Linked DNA regions of Homo sapiens: all the other regions are linked to region 1. The links are contacts of gene promoters, found by promoter capture Hi-C in human tissues and cell types (Jung and others, 2019). All regions are on one chromosome and are shown on one strand. Each heading gives the region's core, a stretch centred on a gene start or on the middle of the fragment in contact. The rest is flanking DNA. Distances are from core to core; before and after follow the strand shown.

The links. The method cuts DNA at HindIII sites, captures the fragments that hold promoters and counts their contacts. A contact is called where the count stands out against the background at its distance.
Region 2: a fragment that was not itself captured here is called in contact with the fragment with the promoter of OSR1 in region 1 in 2 of the 25 tissues and cell types used here (IMR-90 fibroblasts and mesendoderm cells).
Region 3: a fragment that was not itself captured here is called in contact with the fragment with the promoter of OSR1 in region 1 in 2 of the 25 tissues and cell types used here (H1 embryonic stem cells and mesendoderm cells).
Region 4: a fragment that was not itself captured here is called in contact with the fragment with the promoter of OSR1 in region 1 in 1 of the 25 tissues and cell types used here (bladder).

Annotation. Positions count from the first base shown.
Region 1 is chr2:19,357,297-19,360,120 of GRCh38, forward strand. OSR1 (odd-skipped related transcription factor 1) reads right to left here and starts at 1,327. Exons shown (of 3, transcript NM_145260.3): 1 at 1,045-1,327. RefSeq lists enhancers at 1-5, 671-1,199. The HindIII fragment of the contact is 12,145 bases long and covers 1-2,824 here.
Region 2 is chr2:18,717,316-18,720,015 of GRCh38, forward strand. All of the region lies in intron 4 of LOC105373456 (a long non-coding RNA gene), which reads left to right. Among named protein-coding and RNA genes, the nearest start is that of NT5C1B-RDH14, 130 kb to the left of the region's middle. The HindIII fragment of the contact is 6,305 bases long and covers 1-2,700 here.
Region 3 is chr2:18,691,532-18,694,231 of GRCh38, forward strand. All of the region lies in intron 4 of LOC105373456 (a long non-coding RNA gene), which reads left to right. Among named protein-coding and RNA genes, the nearest start is that of NT5C1B-RDH14, 100 kb to the left of the region's middle. The HindIII fragment of the contact is 5,274 bases long and covers 1-2,700 here.
Region 4 is chr2:18,611,745-18,614,444 of GRCh38, forward strand. The region is part of intron 2 of LOC105373456 (a long non-coding RNA gene); the gene reads left to right. Among named protein-coding and RNA genes, the nearest start is that of NT5C1B-RDH14, 24 kb to the left of the region's middle. The HindIII fragment of the contact is 5,502 bases long and covers 1-2,700 here.

The DNA of each region.
Region 1 (2,824 bases), core at 77-2,576:
CGTGGTTTTGTTCCGCAGAGCCAATGCGCAGCTCTTAGCCTGGGTGAAATTTACCAAATTGTGGCAACAAAGAAACCCTTGCGGCTACTTTACACATTGAGAACCCAACCCGCTACTGCCTGAGCTGCTGAAAAAGGACTAAACGTGGTTTTTCATTCTTCTCCGAGACATTTCCGAGGAGAAATTAGTTCAGCAGGCAGCCCTTCACCCCTTTCCCCCTTCTTTCTCTCCTGACGGCTGGATTAGCGGACAGTCAGGGGAGTAACAGAACTTTTCCTGTCCCCAGCCCGGAGACCCTAGGGCTCCACAGAGTTTCCACTAGTGCTGTGTGTGGGTCTCGAATTGGAAAGCAGTGCTTGCGCCCACTGCATTGCCTCCCTGCACCAGGACAATCAAGGGTTCCGCTCCAGGCCTTGACGACACAGAGCAATCATCCTATGGAGAATATCCCTAAGTTAGAGCGCGAGTGCAAGGCGGGGTTCAGACTCGCAGCCCTGCGCTCTCGGGTCTAGGCGGCCTCATACTAGAGCGCAACTCCTCAAAAGACAAACTTGAACGAAAGCGCTACCGAGCTGGGGCATGCACCTGTCCCTGGCGCGGTCGGCTGCGGCTGTGGCCATTCACTCCCTCTCCCTTCCTTCTTCGTCAACCTGGGCGTCAGCCAGAGCTAGGAGCGCGTCTCAGGAAAGTTTGTGCCCGCTGAAGTTGCTCTGGTTTCTTAAAGGGGGCCCACAGATTGACTTTCAAAGTCCGTGGGCACCTCGCCCGTGATTCCGCAGAGCCGGGCGGGCTGGCCGCAGTAGCGGAGGCCCGCCCCCCTTAATCCCCAGCGGTCAGAGGCCGAGGACCCCGCGCAGGAAGTCCTGAGGCAGCACCCCCAACCACCCTGCTCTCACTTTCACAAAAGTCCTACAGCATTCGTTTGGCAAGAGCTTCCTTCAGGGGCATTGAGAGAGAGGAGGCACCCGCCGAGCAGTGACAAGGAACCTGGGAGTCCTGCCCGCATTCGCTTTGCTGAGCCCAGGCGCCCAGGACTGCAATTACCTTGTTCCGCAGAGGTCCTGGGGCTGAGCACGTCTCTGGGGCTTTAGCTGAAGGGGACTGGGGAAGCCGGAGGCCCTGGAGCCCACAGGCGCCCCTGGAGCTCTAGTGTCCCGACTCCTCTCCTGCCGCGGGGACTCCAAGCGCCGGACACGCGGGAGCGAGCGCTCAGCAGCCCCGGATCCTGCACGCCGGGGACGGTGAGCCTCGCTCGCGGCTCCCTCGCTGGGTCTGAACCAGGAGCAGCTGAGAACGTGCCGGGGAGAGGCCGAGCTCCGACTCACTCATCCCTTAGCACCGAGCCGCCTACTTATTTTAATCCACCACCCTCCCTCCTCCACCACCCCCACCCCCGCCCCTTGCCTCAGGATTCCTCCCCTCCCTCCCCTGCCCCCCAACCCTGCCCTGCGCCTGCGCAATGAAAGACAAAGTTTTTGCTGACCCGGGCAGCAGACTTTGGCAGCTGCTCTCGCTTGGACCCGGCCTCTCCCAACCTGCGTCCCCTCCTCTTCAGTCCCGCGCGACCCCTGCTGCCTTTTTAGGTCCAGAGCGGCACGCCTGGCGCACTGGAGGAAACGGTCCCTAGCAGATGAGAGCGGGCTGGCACCGCACGTTTCGAGGTCCTATACTTGGGCTCCTAGGACACAGCCCGTGCTCTTTGGGAGGAGGGAGGGAGGGGCAGTAGCTCTGTGCACCGGGATCCCCACACCGCGGCTTGGGTTTCAACGCACTTTGGCGCCTGACAGAGTCGCATCTCCTCCCAGAATCTCTTTCCAGAGGCGGCAGACCCCGAGTGTGGAGCAGCTCCTGGCTATCCAAGCGTGCTCGGGGCCAGGGTGTTAACCCAGGCAGCGCTGGTTAATTCCTGGTGCGGGAGGGCCAGGGTCACCGAAGCAAGCGAGCTGTAACATCTGAGTGCTTATGGTTGACCCCAGACCCTAAGTTCTGGAGTCCAGTAGAAAGAACAAAGAGTAGGGAAAGGAGGTCAGGAAAGTTATTTTCCTGGGGCCCAGAACTCTCTGAGATTTCACCCCAATGCACAGTGGCACTCTCTACTTACATATTTGTTTTAGGATGGATCAGAGTTTAGAGAGCCGCACTGGCAAGCTAGACGAGCTGCAAAGTTGTCAGTTCCAGGGCCTCTGAGTCAAGGAGCTGGTTCAGGTGGAGTTTTTAATCGGAAAGGAATCAGAGTTCTGGACATTAAAAATTCTATCTTCATTGCCTAGGCATTATGGAGGGTACCATCACCCCCTTGACTACCCATCTCTGAAAGCTGACCTCCGGCTGACCCCAGCCCAATCCCTCCCTAATGCCTTTCTGGAATACCCTTCCAGGCCTTGGGTTTGGCAAGGAGGAGTCACTGGTTTCCTGGGACTTGTGTGGGTCCAGATCACACAACTGCACTCTCTGCCTTTGCCCCAGAGTTGCTGCTGAGTGACTCTTGGAGCTGGATCCTAGATTCCGTGGGTCCCTAAGTACTGTACTGCTTCTCTCCCGAGGAGCTTCTGCTATCTCCAGCTTTGGTTTGCAAAGCTAATCTGATTTTCTTGGGAGGTGAAGAAGGTTGTAATACCTGACCTAGGGAGATGGTAATGAAGACTCCCCTCCCTCAAAGGCATAGTTGAAAGAGGATTTCCTTATATCCCCAGGCCTTTAGAACAGAATCTAGCCTCTAACCCCTGGGTAACTTCGTCTTGTTTGAGGAGGAGTAAGAGGGGGTGCAATCTTTGCTCCAACGAACAGCTTTTACCCAGTGCCTCAGGTTAGTGCAGAAGTAAGA
Region 2 (2,700 bases), core at 69-2,568, 640 kb before region 1:
CAACTCGGTCTCTGCCTTTCCTGCTTTCTAGCTGGCCACCTAATCTTCCTGAGCCTCCCTAATCTCCTCCGCTTGACATGGGAACTAACCAAGGTCATATATGTAGAATTCTTAGCCTGCACCAGGTACTTATACATATTACACAACAGTTCTATTTCCCTCTCGCCTCCCTTACTCCTCCATCTCACTCTCTTCCTGAAGATAATTAGGATGAGTTACCTAGTAAGGCAATTTAAGGGGCATTTCTAAAATATCAGATTTAAAAACAGTCATCAATACTACTCTTTTAAACAATCTGCATCTCACCTCTGTAAAATTATCTTTCTAGTAAAATTAAGCTTCAATAAATTGGAATGGAATTAAAAGATGATAAGGTTTATTGTTTGAGAATGTGAGTGAAATGGGGTGGGGAGGAGATTAAAATTATCTGTGAGATAGAAGGTTAAATTTTTTTAAATGTTAAGAAAAACATGAGTAAACATTTAATGTCAGCACACAGCATGGCAATGAAGTGCCACACAATTTCCAACAGTGTCTTTATCCCACAGAAACCATATTTGTATTTCTCGTGAATGGTGGTTTCCCTGTGAAGAGACCCAGAGGATTTGCTCTGCTCTTTTTTGATGATGATGATGATGATGGTGATGATGATGGATAAGACCTAGGAGGGAGGGGAAGAGGAGACAAGAACAGAAAGGGGAAAATGGGAGGGATATTAATTAATTTGTATCCATTATTGAGTGCCTATTGGTTAGATTATTATTTTTTTCTGATGATGAATCTAGGGTCATTTCTTCCTTCCCCTTCTATTATCTGTTATTCACTTTTGTCCTATTTGTGCGTCTTTACTGCATGTACTAGCAATATGAGAGATGGCCCATTTCTATGCATTTGACCACATTGCCTACTCTTCTTTTTAAATTACTAACATTTATAAGGGTAATAAGCTATATCATTAATTTGTTTTTCATTGCTGGTGAGGTCTGCGTATGTCTTTTATAAATTATGTTTAAGATTGGAATAAATCAGAATGAGGATCAAATTATTATGAATAGAGAGTGCTTTCCTCATTTTTTATATTTTGTCTACTTCAAGTAGTTTTTATTGGAGTTTTGTATAAGTTTATGGGGTGATGAATTTTTATCTGTGTTTATTTTTTCTGCTAAACAAGAACTCTGAGAAGCTGGGTCACGCGCCTTTGGTTTTGGGACGCGGATAGTTTTGAGAAGTTATGAGGTTCAACATTTCTGAGACTAACTGTATCCATGCACAAAGCCCTGCCTTGGCTTCACCTTTGAACCTAGGTTCCTCGAAGACCCAATTTACTCTTCATTTTAGTTCATTATCCCCAGTGGGAGAGTGAGGTACCGTTCAGCCAAGTAGGCTCAGCCCGAAAGAGTCTACTTTCCCTAAACAAAATCTAATCACGAGTTTCCTGGAAGAGAGAGCTAGTTTGACTGTTTGGTCAGGAAAATGCCATGGTAAGATGAACTCATCTAACTGTACTTGGTTCTCATGGCCTAATCTTTTTATATGTGAAACATCACAGAGAAAATTCTGTGTCCTGAACTCTAATGGGCTCCAATTATGCTCTTGGGGAGAGTGAGATTGGTTGGAAGGAATGCTTTTAGGAGTTTTGGCATAATGGGTAGACATTGAACATAGTGCACTATTTCTGTCATTTATATAAAAACTATTCTACATCTGAATATGCTCTTCATTAAATGTATCAGCTTAGGAACTCTACCAAGATCATAGCCAAATAATATGTCACTCCGTATATAACCATGACAATCTTGAGATTAAGCAACCCTGGATGCTACTTTTGATGATGTTTTTCTAGCATCTTTAAACTTACAAATGTAAACATTTGGCAGATATTTTTATATTTCACTTTGTATTGTAAAAGGGTCTTAACCCTGAAAAAGTAGCCAGATTTTCACTTGATAGTTCTCGAATCTCAGTTTTCCTATGCCTCAAACAAGGGCCTTTAAGCAGCAATGTGCCACATTTTTTATTAGTCACTACAGTTAAAAAAAAATTAGAAAGACATTCATTTGTTTACTCATTCATTTGGATGTCATTTGTTGAGCATCCATTATGTGCTCAGCATCATGCTAGGTTCTGTGAGGTGATGTGGAAATGAATATAGTAAATTTATTCATTCATTCAGTCAATGAACATTATTTAAAATCTGTGATTTGATGAGTTAATAAAATGTGTTTCCCATCTTCAGTAAATTCACAGTGTAGCTACAGAAACTCCAGTTAATAAAATTGTTGAGATCCTTTGGTTTAACATGAAATAAATGGAAACTGTCTTAGATGCTAGGAAACTACTTTGCAAATAATGAAACTTTGCACTTGAGATTATTTGTTTAGCATCAAACGAAACAGCCTTTTCTGTCTCCTGACCATACAAGGTACTGCGGACACATATTAATTCAGTTTATTTGACTAGAAATTTACCATATGACTCCACAGTTCTAGGTCCTATGCCAAACATTGGGAATAACAAGATCAAAGAAGCACAGTTCCTGCCCTTGAAGAACTTAGTAGCAATGGTGATGAGGATGCTCAGGAATTGTGCAATGGTACAAGTGATGCATGAGCACTGAAGAGGGAGCAGAGAATGTCCCTAACAGTAATAGCGCATGAACTGAATTTCAAAACAGTAAAGAGAATGGGGCATCAGTGTTCT
Region 3 (2,700 bases), core at 90-2,589, 670 kb before region 1:
CTAAAACTGTAAAAATTCCTGGAAGAAAATATACAGAGGAAAAGCTTCTTGACATTGCCCTTGGCAATTAGTTTTTGGATTTCACAACAAAAGCTCAGTGAATAAAAACAAAAATAAATAAGTGGGACTATATCAAACTAAAAAGGTTCTCCAAATAGCAAAAGAAAAAGACAGCTTATGGTTTGGGAGACAATATTTGCAAACTATACATCTGATAAGAGATTAACTCCCAAAATATATAAGGAAGTCACACAATAGCAAAAAAAAAGTTTAAAAAATGAGCAAAAATCTGGACATTTTTCTGAACACATAAAAATATCCAACAGGTATATGAAAAGGTGCTCACCATCAGTAATCATCAGATAAATATAAAAACCACAATGAGATATAGTTTCACATCTGTTAGCATGGCTATTATCAAAAAGACAAGAGATAGCAAGTGTTGGTGAGAGTCAAAATTAAAACTCTTGTGACCCAGTGGTTCCTTTTCTGATTATATGCCCCAAATTAATGGAATCAACACCTTGTAGACATTTCTACACTCTGATGTGCATCACAGCTTTATTCACAATAGCCAAGATAAGGAAACAACGTAAGTGTTCATCAATAGATAAATGGATAAAGAAAATGGTATCTGTCTGTCTATCCATCCATCCATCCATCCATCTTTTTTTTTCATTATTGTACTTTAAGTTTTAGGGTACATGTGCACACTGTGCAGGTTTGTTACATATGTATACATGTGCCATGTTGGTGTGCTGCACCCATTAACTCGTTATTTAGCATTAGGTATATCTCCTAATGCTATCCCTCCCCCCTCCCCCCACCCCACAACAGGACCCAGTGTGTGATGTTCCCCTTCCTGTGTCCATGTGTTCTCATTGTTCAATCCCACCTATGAGTGAGAACATGTGGTGTTTGGTTTTTTGTCCTTGCGATAGTTTGCTGAGAATGGTGGTTTCTAGCTTCATCCATGTCCCTACAAAGGACATGAAATCATCCTTTTTCATGGCTGCATAGTATTCCATGGTGTATATGTGCCACATTTTCTTAATCCAGTCTATCATTGTTGGCCATTTGGGTTGGTTCCAAGTCTTTGCTATTGTGAATAGTGCCTCAATAAACATACATGTGCATGTGTCTTTATAACAGCATGATTTATAATCCTTTGGGTATATACACAGTAATGGGATGGCTGGATCAAATGGTATTTCTAGTTCTAGATCCCTGAGGAATTGCCACACTGACTTCCACAATGGTTGAACTAGTTTACAGTCCCACCAACAGTGTAAAAGTGTTCCTATTTCTCTACATCCTCTCCAGCACCTGTTGTTCCCTAACTTTTTAATGATCACCATTCTAACTGGTGTGAGATGGTATCTCATGGTGGTTTTGATTTGCATTTCTCTGATGGCCAGTGATGATGAGCATTTTTTCATGTGTCTTTTGGCTGCATAAATGTCTTCTTTTGAGAAGTGTCTGTTCATATCCTTTGCCCACTTGTTGATGGGGTTGTTTTTTTCTTGTAAATTTGTTTGAGTTCCTTGTAGATTCTGGATATTAGCCCTTTGTCAGATGAGTAGATTGCAAAAATGTTCTCCCATTCTGTAGGTTGCCTGTTCACTCTGATGGTGGTTTCTTTTGCTGTGCAGAATCTCTTTAGTTTAATTAGATCCCATTTGTCAATTTTGGCTTTTGTTACCATTGCTTTTGGTGTTTTAGACATGAAGTCCTTGCCCATGCCTATGTCCTGAATGGTATTGCCAAGGTTTTCTTCTAGAGTTTTTATGGTTTTAGGTCTAACATTTAAGTCTTTAATCCATCTTGAATTAATTTTTGTATAAGGTGTAAGGAAGGTATCCAGTTTCTTCTTTCTACATATGGCTAGCCAGTTTTCCCAGCACCATTTATTAAATAGGGAATCCTTTCCCCATTTCTTGTTTTTGTCAGGTTTGTCAAAGATCAGATAGTTGTAGATATGTGGCATTATTTCTGAGGGCTCTGTTCTGTTCCATTGGTCTATATCTCTGTTTTGGTACCAGTACCATGCTGTTTTGGTTACTGTAGCCTTGTAGTATAGTTTGAAGTCAGGTAGCATGATGCCGCCAGCTTTGTTCTTTTGGCTTAGTATTGACTTGGAAATGCGGGCTCTTTTTTGATTCCCTATGAACTTTAAAGTAGTTTTTTCCAATTCTGTGAAGAAATTCATTGGTAGCTTGATGGGGATGGCATTGAATCTATAAATTACCTTGGGCAGTATGGCCATTTTCACGATATTGATTCTTCCTACCCATGAGCATGGAATGTTCTTCCATTTGTTTGTATCCTCTTTTATTTCATTGAGCAGTGGTTTGTAGTTCTCCTTGAAGAGGTCCTTCACATCCCTTGTAAGTTGGATTCCTAGGTATTTTATTCTCTTTGAAGCAATTGTGAATGGGAGTTCACTCATGATTTGGCTGTTTGTCTGTTATTGGTGTATAAGAATGCTTGTGATTTTTGCACATTGATTTTGTATCCTGAGACTTTGCTGAAGTTGCTTATCAGCTTAAGGAGATTTTGGGCTGAGAGGATGGGGTTTTCTAGGTATACAATCATGTCGTCTGCAAACAGGGACAATTTGACTTCCTCTTTTCCTAATTGAATACCCTTTATTTCCTTCTCCTGCCTGATTGCCCTGGCCAGAACTTCCAACACTATGTT
Region 4 (2,700 bases), core at 52-2,551, 750 kb before region 1:
AAAAAAAAAGTGATGTTTACATAGCATTGACCAAGAGCATATTGTCACAGGCTTTGCCCTGTGTTTTTCCTTTAGGTCATTTCTATTCAACAAACTTGTGTTGAGTACATACCAGGTGCCAGGTGCTGTGTCAAGTTTCAGGGATAAGTTGATGAAACTGACTCAATCACTGATTGCCCCCAGGAACTTACGGTCTACCAGGAAGAGAAGACAAGTGCCCACATAACTGTGACACAGTGGGTGCTGTGTCCATCATAAGAGGAGTAGGAAGAAAGCAAAGCACTGTGCTCTGAGAGTCCAAAAGTGAGAAGGCAAGAATGAGGTTTATAAAGGGTGGCAAGAGAAAGGCTTCCTAGAGAATTTGCCATTTGGATGAATGAGTGGGAGATAAGATATATTAGTTTGCCAGGGCTGTCATAACAAAGTACCACAAATTGAGTATCTAATAAAACCAGAAATTTATTTTCTCATTGTTCTGGAGGCTGGAAACCTGACATAAAGGCATCAGAAGGGTTAGCTCCTTTGGGGGCTGGGAGGGATAATCTGTTCTATGCTCTTGCCTAGCCTTTGGTGGTTTGCTGGCAGCCTTCGACATTTCTTGGCTTGTAGAAGCATTATCTCAACCTCTGCTTTTATCTTCATATGGCGTTCTCTCTGTGTGCATGTCTCTGTGTCTAAATTCCCCTTTTAATAAGGATAACAGTCATATTGAACTAGAGGCTTACCTTACTTCAGTACGACCTTATCTTAACTAATAACATCTGCAATTACCCTAGTTCCAAATGAGGTCACATTGTGAGGTAGTGGGGGTTAGAACTTCACTATATGCATTTTGGGAGGGACACAATTCAACCCGTAACAAGTAGGTTTTCAGGAAGCAAAGACTAGAAGAGGAGCATAAGAAGAAAAGCTCTCCAGGAAGCAAGTACTATGTATACTTTCTGCTTCCAATAAGCAAGCTTCTGAATTACTCAATCTCTGACCATTCCCTTTACTACCCCTCTCTCAACATTTTACTTATTTAGTTCCCTCTGTCAAGAATGTTGTCCTTTATCCTTGCCTCCTCCTCCTTATCCCAGAACTTCCTGTTAAATCCTGTCTGTGACACTAAGAGGTCCACACTGTGACACTAAAAGATACTATTTTCTGTACAATCCAGTTTCCATACTTTAGAGAACTCACTCTATTTCTTAGCCATGCTTCTCCATACAAGACACAAACTCATTAAAACCAAAAGGCATATGTACTTCCTAAGCACATATGCTACTATTTTCCGCACTTTATACCATACTTAATGTACCTAAGGCCCCAGAATTTTCCACCCAAAGGGTTCCATGTGTGTTTCTGATGCCTGCTTGGAGAGCCTTCCTAGGCCAGTCATTCGGAGGACATGGACCATGCTGACAGAAGCCACATTCCTAGAAGGTGCTGGTGGGAAGGGAAGAGAGGGAGCTTTCTTTAATTGTGCTGTTCTGCCATCTATCAGTGGTAGAGGAGTGGTTGCCTGTAAGAACCAGGTCAAACACCCACCACTTTCATTTTCTCAAAGAAGCCATTCCTGATCCTCTAGTCTCATTCAAATAATGCTAAGATCCTACCGCCTGCTTCACACATCAGACTTTGTTTCCACTCTCCTGGCCAAGCATTTCCTTGGAACCTCTCTAAAACCACTTACTACATTTTATCGTAGTCATATTTTTGTTTGTTATATTTCCCCTTTGTAATAGTTAATTTATGTATCAACTTGACTGGGCTAAATAATGCCCAGATAGATGGTAAAATATTATTTCAGGGTGTGTCTGTGAGAGTGTTTCTGGAAGAGATTAGCTTTTGAACTGGTTAGACTGAGTAAAGAAGATCCACCCTCACCAAGATGTATACTGGGGGTCTTTTCTTGAGGGTCTGAATAGACCAAAAAGGGGGAGGAAGGGTGAAATGGTTGTCTCTGCTTAAGCTAGAACACCCATCTTCTCTTGCCTTTGGACATCCCCTTTCCATAAAGTCATGCTTAGTCACCTGCTAATCAGTTAAATGCTGAATTGTTCAAATTGTTCAAATTGTGTGTTAGCAGTTAGCAGCTCCCAAAGGTCTTTGACTTCAGTCTTCAAGCCCTGGTCTTGGGTCTTCAGACTTGGACTGGGATTTATACCATTGGCTTCCCTGGTTCTCAGGCATTTGAGTTTGGACTGGAACTATGCCACGGATTGAGGGACTTCTCAGCCTCCACAATCACATAAGCCAATTCCTCATATAAATCTCTTTCTGTATGTCTGTAAATGTCCTATTGGCTCTATTTCTTTGGAGAATCCTAACTAATACATAGTCCTCCTTTTCTGTTCCTCTACTCACTATTATGTTTTTCCCTGAATTAACCTCTAAGCTACTTAGAAGTAGAGACTGTGCATTCTCATCTTTTTATGTAATGCAGCTAAATATGTAGCTACTAAGCAAATATTCTTTAAATACATTCAGAGATTCCTGAATGAAATATGAGATTTTGTAGACTCTGGAAGGAAGTTAGTGTAGTGGAAACAGCATGATTTGGAGTTGGACAGTCCTGGATTGTGCTCCATCATTTTGTATGAGGTAATGGGGCAGGGTCACTTATGAATTCTTTTAAAACTTAGTTTTCTCCTTTGTGGAATGACAGCCTCCAGTAGGAATAGCTTAATTAATCATGGTCATAGAAAGACAAAGCAC